Linked DNA regions of Homo sapiens: region 1 is linked to region 2. The links are contacts of gene promoters, found by promoter capture Hi-C in human tissues and cell types (Jung and others, 2019). All regions are on one chromosome and are shown on one strand. Each heading gives the region's core, a stretch centred on a gene start or on the middle of the fragment in contact. The rest is flanking DNA. Distances are from core to core; before and after follow the strand shown.

What was found. Contacts are between HindIII fragments. The study calls those that stand out against the background at their distance.
Region 1: a fragment that was not itself captured here is called in contact with the fragment with the promoter of KIF26B in region 2 in 2 of the 25 tissues and cell types used here (dorsolateral prefrontal cortex and hippocampus).

What each region holds. Positions count from the first base shown.
Region 1 is chr1:246,153,677-246,158,217 of GRCh38, reverse strand. The region is part of intron 5 of SMYD3 (SET and MYND domain containing 3); the gene reads left to right. Among named protein-coding and RNA genes, the nearest start is that of SMYD3-AS1, 47 kb to the right of the region's middle. The HindIII fragment of the contact is 3,034 bases long and covers 486-3,519 here.
Region 2 is chr1:245,153,394-245,157,937 of GRCh38, reverse strand. It overlaps KIF26B (kinesin family member 26B), which reads right to left and starts at 2,953. Exons shown (of 15, transcript NM_018012.4): 1 at 2,451-2,953; 2 at 1,255-1,656. The coding sequence starts at 2,513. RefSeq lists silencers at 1,005-1,544, 3,412-3,611 and enhancers at 3,466-4,141, 4,142-4,544. The HindIII fragment of the contact is 11,465 bases long and covers 1-4,544 here.

The DNA.
Region 1 (4,541 bases), core at 753-3,252, 1.0 Mb before region 2:
AGAAAGAGAGTCAGGGGAAGAATGAGTCTATTTTTACCTTAAAGTAGCAGCATTCAGGATAAGATGTCTTCACTTAGAAATCAGTCATACCCTCGACTGTGGATCAGTGCAGGCTTTAATAATTCATTCTGAAACCTGTGCTTCCCCAGCTAGTGCTCCCTGGCTCTTTACTTATTTAAAGGTCTGTTTACCTCTCAGTTTGCACCTGCAACTGTCCATTCAATCTGCTGTGCATAACCAGTGGGGAATAAGCCCATTAATTAGAATAATTTAAGCATCTCAGCTTCCTGCAATCTTCAACCTAGTGGGGTCTCACTGGCAACATACTTCTTTATGAAGCTCATCTCTCATCTGAACCACAGGTCTAGATCCTTAATGCAGTGATCAGAAGCTTGCGATTCTGTGGCACTTGAAAATTTGGAAGCCCCATAATATATGGTCTGGTTTGCAGATTCTCAACGCAGTTCCACTAGGGATTGACACACCCATGCTAGTCTCTTGTGTAATTAACCACAACAACAGATTGTAGCAGAATATAAAAGAAGGAAGCTGACCTATGGGGGGGAAAAAAGACAAAGCTTATTGTTGTGGCAAGGAGGGACTTCATTCTTTTAGGACAGGCTATCCAGGTGACCTGATAATGGATATAGAGGAATTCCAGTATTGAATTAGGCCTTTTGCATCTGACAAAGGACAGGATTAAAAGGAATAACTTGGGAGGGAATGTCTGTTGGCATCTGTTTGCTTGATGATCCACCCATGATGCCTGACCGGATGAGAGCCTGTCTTTGGGAAGCTCATGAGTTTATAAGAAACAGAATTGCTGCTGTTTCTTAAACTAGGCAGTGTTCTGGTGAAGAACGTGGGCTCTGGGACAAGAGGGCCATTTGCTGGTTGTTTTCTCTTGTCGAGTTAATTATCGCTCTGCCTCAGTGTTCTCATCTATAAACTGTGAGTAGCCAGACCTCCCTGAAGGACACTTGCTGGCAAGGCCAAAACACAAGCTACAAACAGAGGCCAAGCAGTGGAGGCAGGGGGCGCCCCGAAGGGACAGGTGACAGGCAGTGATGCCAAGGGCAGCTCTTGTCCTCGTCCCAGACTTCGCTACTCATTGGCTTTGGTGATGTAAGCGCTAAGTAAAAAGCTACTGCTGTTCCAAACAGATGTGAGGCGAAGGTTTAAGCTTTGCGGTCTGCGTATGACCTTTTCATCTTTGCCCTCGTACCTCCTAGCATCCCTTTCTTTGTGAATGGTGCCTACGTTGGATTGTTTATCCAAACCAGACACCTGAGTCATTCTAGGGTCCTTTGTGTCACCCACCTCCATGATTCAGCAAATCACTAAATACGGTTTGTTCGACCTTTTTACCTGTGATTTCCTTTTTAGTGTAGGTAATTCCTCATCAGCCTTCAAATTCAGCTCAAATATGACCTCTTAAGGGAAAGCATTCTGTGACTCTCCCTTTCGTAGTCTGATTAAGGTGCCCGTTTTCTTTGCTCCCCAAAACACCTTGTAGATATTTTAGGAAACACAGCATTTCTTGCAAATGTTAATTTAGTTTCCTCCACTAGACTCTTAAGCTCCTGTGGGCAGAGACTGAGTCCTATTTGGTTTTATATCCCTAATGGTTGGCATAGTGCCTCACAAATAACAGGCTTTTAATGTTTATTGAAGGAACCAAAGAAAGTAGGTTTCTGTGAGTTCACCTTGGATCATAACCATGATATAGAACTTATTTTTATGGGGAAAATATGTTCTTACCTTCCCAATAACTCAGAGTTATAAGCTTTAGAGTATTAGCAGATGTCATTCTAAAAGTTCCTTTCTTTAGAATCTAAATTATTTAAAAAACTTAATTTTGTGTGCAGGTAAATTGCTTGTCTCTGCCCTCATCAACATCCCAGGGGCAGGATTTAAAAAAATCTTCACGTTGTTGTTTTATTTTGTTTCACTTTTTTCTTGCCCATTTCTGATACAAAAATGGGACAAAGAGCTTTCTGATGGAAAGTTATTATTAGCTCCATTTACTAGAAATGATTCATAGGCCCAAGGAAGTCTTTTTGCATGTAGTAAACACATAGTAACCAAATTAGGTATGTGAGCCAAAGGTTAAGAGCCAAAGTCAAACTTCCAGACCTTAACATTAATTGAAAAAAAAAAATTCTGTCCTTCGAACTCTGTAGCTCAAGATAAATGTGATTCTTAGAGGTCGATATATTTTTTTTTTTTTGAAGACATAGTCTCGCTCTGTCACCCAGGCTGGAGTACAGTGGCACAATCTTGGCTCATTGCAACCTCAGCCTCTGAGATTCAAGCGATTCTCCTGCCTCAGCCTCTGAGTAGCCAGGACTACAGGTGCGTGCCACCACACTAGGCTATTTTTTTTTATTTTTTATTTTTAGTAGAGATGGGATTTTCCCATATTGGCCAGGCTGGTCTCGAACTCCTGACCTCAAGTGATCCACCTGCCTCGGCCTCCCAAAGTGCCGGGATTACAGGCACGAGCCCCTGTACCTGGCGAGATGTGTAGTTCTTGGTGCTAACTATGAGCATCTTTAGGGCATGAAGCAGATCTTCACTTCTGTATTGCCAGCATTTAGTACAATAAGTGTTTGGTGAAAGATGAACCAATAAGTGAATGATTGTATTTCCTTTTCAGCTTTCATGAGAAATTATGTGATGATCAGACTGTTTGGTTTGATAACCTTTTATTGTAAAGGTAGTTTTTGATTATTATAGAGCAGCACTGGTTGATGGGCTTGAAATTTTATATTTTTCTTTAATCAGCATATCTACAAACAATCAGTGGAGTATTCCTTTTGGGTTGCCATTTTGAAACAAGAAACGTATGGAAATAAGGGACGAACATTATCTGCTTTCTCTTGGCTGTGTCCTGAAAGAATTGGAATTTGCTGTGGAGCAAAAGCTAAAGATTAAGCAATATTTTTTTCTTTTTAAAGTAATACCAGTATAATTGCTGGAATTATTAGTAATAGTATTACTATTATTCATTATTAAATTTCTCATTTTATTTCAATCTCTCCATCAGGAATGACTTGTGTAGAGTAAGGGAGTTTGGGAGGGAAGAAAGCTAATTCATAAATTCATTTTTCTTGTTTAATATACTGTTTGTTTTGGGCCAGGCACGGTGGCTCATGCCTGTAATCCCAGCACTTTGGGAGGCCGAGGCGGGCAGATCACAAGGTCAGGAGCTCGAGACCATCCTGGCTAACACGGTGAAACCCTGTCTCTACTAAAAATACAAAAAATTAGCCAGGCGTGGTGGTAGGCGCCTGTAGTCCCAGCTTCTTATGAAGCTGAGGCAGGAGAATCACATGAACCCGGGAGGCGGAGCTTAGAGTGAGCCAAAATTGCACCAGTGCACTCCAGCCTGGGCGACAGAGTGAGACTCCATCTCAAAAAAAAAACAAAAAACAAAAAACAAAACAAAAAAAAAACATTGTTTGTTTTGATGGTAACTTCATGTATTTCATACATTGTCATTGTAACACATTAACTAAGTGTGGGGAACAATGAACAATAAACCAAGAGCTGTTTCTCTGTTGTGATACTTCTTGTTGCCAAATTTGTGGGCTTTCATAGTTCAGGAAATCTTCCTGCACAACTGCTTTGAAAATTACTAAATGTTAATTACTATTCTACTGTTTTTAAAGGAAAGCAGAAAACACTGCATCTGAAAGTCTATTAAAAGAAACTAGGAGGGCTATTGGTTTCAATTTCTAATAGCTTTATAGTGTGTCCTGGGCATCCTTCTGTGCCGTGAGCGGGGGTCAAATTCTGAAGACTTAAGCCCTGAAGCACTTTGCCGGTATAAACAGATCTCTCACTGGGGCAGATTACTTACCTGGAGCTGTATGGAGCAGGATCAGCTAGAACATTACACCTTTTATATCTTACTTTGCCAAAGGTATCATTCACTTAGTAAGAGAAATGTTAACTTTTTCCATAGTTAGTAGCGATAGAAGCAGAGCGGATGGCACAATGAAGCCATCGGAGCCTTTAAGGCCCTTATTATTTCCATTGATTCGTTCAGTGAATGTAGGCTGCGTGCAATACCACATGAGTGGATATAGCCAAAGCTATGCCAGATTGATTGATGGATTGCCTTTAGTAAACTTGCAGTGTAATGAGGCCACAGTAATGTAGAAGAGGGAGTGACTCATGTATGGGGCAGTAAGCAGAAAGGATTAAAGTCTTCTGCACTTTGCATTTAAGAGGTCATTAGAACCCACCCAAAGCAAGGGTAGATTTAGTGCCTAATGATGTCACAGTACATATTATGAGAGGTTGGAAATTTGGGGAAATGGAGATGATAGCAAGTATAAAGGGTTTTTTTTCTAGCAACCTGGCTATTAAGGGATAAATAAAGTGTTGTAGCTAGAGGTGAATGAGGTTAAAGGTGGGATTGTTTAAAATAGAAGACTTAGGCCAGGAGTGGTGGCTCACACTTGTAATCCCAGGCTTTGGGAGGCCAAGGCAGGAGGATTGCTTGAGGCTAGGAGTTTGAGACCAGCTTGGGA
Region 2 (4,544 bases), core at 1,704-4,203:
GCCTGACACAGTGCCTCGGATGGAGTAGAAAATCAATGAATATTGATGAAGGATCACGAGAGCAAATAAATCTGTGAATGAAGAAACGGTGTTAAATCGGAAGGTCTAGCACGCAAGAGCGAAATAAGCTTTTTGATTCCTTGAGATGTATCCTTGGGATGTCACGGCAGATGTATCAAACTACAAAAACGGTACACTGACAACCATCCACGAGTTCATTATTCTTGAGATAAGTTCTGCATTCATAAAACCAATTCTCCTGGTGGTCATTTCCCCCATTTTAAGTTTCACAGCGTCTGTGGGCATTTGTTGAATTTAACCCTTGCCTATGAAAACATCAACGTGTGTATCTGCATACGCAGGTTGGGCCAGCAGACGCAGTCATTCCTAAACGCCTACTCGAAATCACAGTATTTCATTTCTAAAGTCACGGAAATAATAAACCAGAAATTGACGTTGAACCAACAGTGTCAAAAACCTCTACAGCAATCCACTCTATTTCCTTGATATTGCTCTCTAACCACTGATAAAAACTCTTTGAAGTGGCCGAGTAAATATGATCATTTGATAGTACTTGGACCCAACAGTGCAAATACAATCGCATTGCTATCCCCTGGGGGCTCGGGCCAGTCACACACTGCGGGCAGGGTTGCTATGGAGGAACCAGTGTGCTTGGCGCAGGAGCAGGCCAGGAGGGAGCACTGCTCCGAAGAGCCACCCGCCTCCGGATCTTCCTCAGACACACACACAGACTGAGAAGGGGAAAATGCTGGCTTTCGAGTATGTTTCTGTTTCTGCAACCGCGGAAAGGATGGACCACAAACAGGCAGTGGGAAATGCCAGCTCCGAGCATCAGCTTGCTTTTACAGCTCCCGCTGACATTTTTGTAAAGGATCACAGGTGGGGGTGGGGAGAAACATCGAAAGCGCAGCCTGCAGCCGCCAGGGAGAGCTGGGAGGGGGCGGCAGGAGAGACCACCTGGGGGCCTCCCCCGTGGGCCGTGAGGCCTGTGGCCACGGGCGCCCCTTCGCGCTCGGGACTCGGTCCTCCTGCCCCCCGGGCGGCCTGGCTGAGGAAGGGGCATGGGTCGCCCCGCGTGCTAGAGCCCCGTGAGGTGTGGAGCATCCCCAGCGCCGCCGGGGGCTCTCGCGTGGAGCCGGCGCGCAAGGTCGCGGCGGGCTGAGCAGCTGCTGTGGGTGGCGGCCCGGCCCCGCCCTCCCGGCGCCTCCCCAGCCAGCCCCGCGCGGCGCTCACCTTGCCCGGGAAGGGCCCCGGGAGGAGCAACCTCAGGGCCTGCCTCTTGAGCTCCACCAGGCGGGCGTTGCAGTTCTCGCACCAGACGCCGCGGTCCGAGCCGGGGGAGGAGCCGCCGCCGCTGCCGGAGCCCGGGGAGCCTGTGCCGAAGCCCGGAGAGCCGCCCAAGGAGCCCGGCGAACTAGTGCCGATGCCGGGGGAGGCGGGTCCCGGGGAGCCGGTGAACGAGCTCGGGGACGAGGTGCCCGAGCCGGGAGACGGGGTCCCCGAGGAGCCGAGCGCTGAGCCCGCGCCCTCAGGAGTGGGCCGGCTGCCGGCGCGCGACTCCTCGTATGCTTTCCGGTACCAGCTTTCCGGGGAGAAGGGCGCTGCGGGCTTGGTGGGCGAGCAGACTTCATTCACCTGCGGGGAAGACACGCCGGTGTCAGGGGCTGCAAGGCGGCGGGCTGCAGCGCCCAGGAGCTGGGTCATACGTGCGCCACCAAGTACCCGCTCGAACCGCCCACGGGAGTCGGTTGGGGACCTCTCCAAGCCCTGCGGCCAAATTGCCCTCCGTCTGTCTCGTTAATTGTCCTTAAGTGAGTCCCCACCGCCCAGGTGACCCCTGCGCTGGTCCCCGGTGGCCTCCTCCTGGGGTCAGGAAGGGGACTCGCTCGGGGCCGTTTCCACGGCTTCTGCAAGGCGGGGGGGATCCATAGGTTCAGCGCCCCACGCTTTTGAAGCCGGCACCTATCCCAGCAAGATCCCGGGAACAAAATCCTGGAAGACCCTATGGGGGGGGTAGGGGGAGGGCTGTGATTTCAGGATTTTTATTCATACGGGGTCCAACTCTCCGGATCCTGCAGGTAAACGAGAGGCTCTCACGGCTCCAGCTAAACGATCCGAGGTACTGCCCAGCATTCATGGGAAACCCTCCCCTTCGGCTTCACTCTGCCTAGAAGTGCAGGAATGCGGCAAAAGTTACGGGTGCGTGGAAAGGAAGGAACGAGAGGGCTGAAAAAATTCCGAGAGCGAGGCGAGCGTGCGGGCGTCCCCGCGGCCGACCCGCCTCCGCGCACTCACAACCCCGCCAGCCCCGGGGGCGCCTCTGCAGCGGGGGAGAGCTCGGGGCCGGGGCCGCACGATCCCGGGGAAAGGGGGACCTCCGCCGAGATGGGTCTGGTAACGCGTCTCCGCGTCGTACCGTCACAACTTACCCCGTATTTCTTGCCCCTGGTGGAGACCGCAAGCCTCTCTTTATTCCCAGCTACCGAATTCATGGTGGCTTTTCCAGAGGAGAGTATCTAAAGGTTCCACCGACGCTACATCCAGAAGGTCCTCCAACCCAGAAGCGTCCCCCGGCTGCAGGGGGCTGGCTCTCAGCCCTCAGGGCAAGGTTTCTTCAGCGGTGGGGTGGGAGGGAATGAAAGCAAATGGATCCCACAAGTAATAGCACCAATTTGCAGAAAGGGTTGGGGTCGCTGGTTTATTCTTCTCTTCAAAGCATGCTTTTCCTCGTCCCCTTCTGCCTCTTCCAGCCGCACGTCCTCTTGTCACGGCCACATCCACAGAACTGGCATTTTCTTCAGCCAAGTCAGTCCGTGCTCCCCCACGAGGAAAGCGAGGGATACAATCAGGGCTCGCGGCCGCTGCCGGGAAGGTGGGAGAGCCGAGCCGAGTCAGCTGTGGGAACTTGTCTCCTTCACCGAGCTTGGTAACTGAGTTCAAAGAAATTCTCCCAAAATATAAAGATCCAGACTCGGGGAGGAGCCTCGGCGTGTCGCCGAGCCAATATCCGCCGGCCCGTTTCGCCTGACAGTTGCGCGAGGGCCGGGAGAGGGGCGGCTCCGCGTGGCCCGGGAGCGGTCGGCGGTCACAGCGCGCGTGTGCGCCCGGGCGCAGCGCGGAGGAGCCTCGGGAACCTGCCGCCCTCGCCGCGCCGGCCGGGATCCATTTTATGTGGCGGCGCTCGTGCCTGACATTGCGAGGCCTGGAGCCGGGCTGGGGCTGGGGGCGGGGGATCGTCGATCTCGCCGCGTGCGGGGAAGTTCCTGGCGCGCGGCCCGGGCCCGGGGCTCTAATGAAACGCCGCTGCGCGAGCCTGGAGCCCGGGGGCCGCGCGAGCGAGCGTGGCTGGACGGAAATGCGGTGCCCCAGCCTCCCCCGCCCCCAAGTTCTTTCTCTTCCTGACAAGGCTTGCAGGTCTGTCTGTGAAACGCCGTGCAAAAGGGATTGAGTCACAAACAAGTCCACAAACATGCCGGGTCCTCCCCCCGCCCTTTGTTCTCGGAGAGCTGCCGGGCAAACCTTTTCTGGAATTGCCCTACCGACCCCGGGCCGGCCGGGGGGCCACCCTCCCCGACCGCAGCCGCAGGACTAGGGCCCTTGGTCCCCCGCCCGCCCGAGCCCCGGTCTGTGATGGACTAAGCCGCCCGGGGCTGGGACAGGTGAGCCTGGTGACCCAGCGGGCCGCTGCCGGGCAGGGGAAACTGAGGGCTTCGCCGCGCTGCACGCGGACGACTCTGGCCTGGAGAGGGGGTGTGGCGCGAGCTGGCCTTGGCCTCTCCTTGCGTGGGATCGGGCCCCTCGCCCCCCGCCGCCCGTTTCTTCCTGCGCCTGGGCCCCGCGGGGTCTCCGGAGCACCCCGTCATCGCTCCCTCTCCGATCGCCCCCCGCCCCAGTCCCCCGGCGCAGCGCCCAGGAGCGCAGGAAGCCGGCGTATGCCAGGCTCCACACGTGGCTGCTCTGGGGTGTCATTTTTCATTTCACGGGAGGACATTTCTTCTGGTGAGCCAGCAGGTCTGTTTTGTTGTGACCTTTAATTAACACCCCGCGAGACGCCTCTGGAAGGACTGGCCGGGCGCAGGGATCACGTGGGGTGTAACGGCATCTCCGCGCCCGCGGGGAGACCCAGCCCGGGGGTGGGCGAGGGCGCGAAGGACGTTCAGGGCTTTCTGGTCGCTGACTTCCTTCTGAGCTGTGGACGACGCAGGAGGGGGCAAGAAGACAAAGGTTCGGGGTTCTGGAAGCCTGGGGCCACGCCCCCACTCTGCCTTCCTCGGGGACAATTTCTTCTGTGCCTCCCGTGCTCTGCCCCACTCCTCCCCGCTCCAGCTCCTGCGCGGGAATATTTCACAGCCACCAAAGCGAGGTAAAAAGGTCAAAAGGAAGATGGCAAGAACAGAGTGGACGTTTCCGTTACGTTCCCACTTCCAATTTAAAAGCGATCCTATCAATAGGGGACCTTAGGGGGCAGGTACACCTCCAGGCAGCACGCGCCAGCTCCCACCCGCATCTGTATTTCGCGTAGG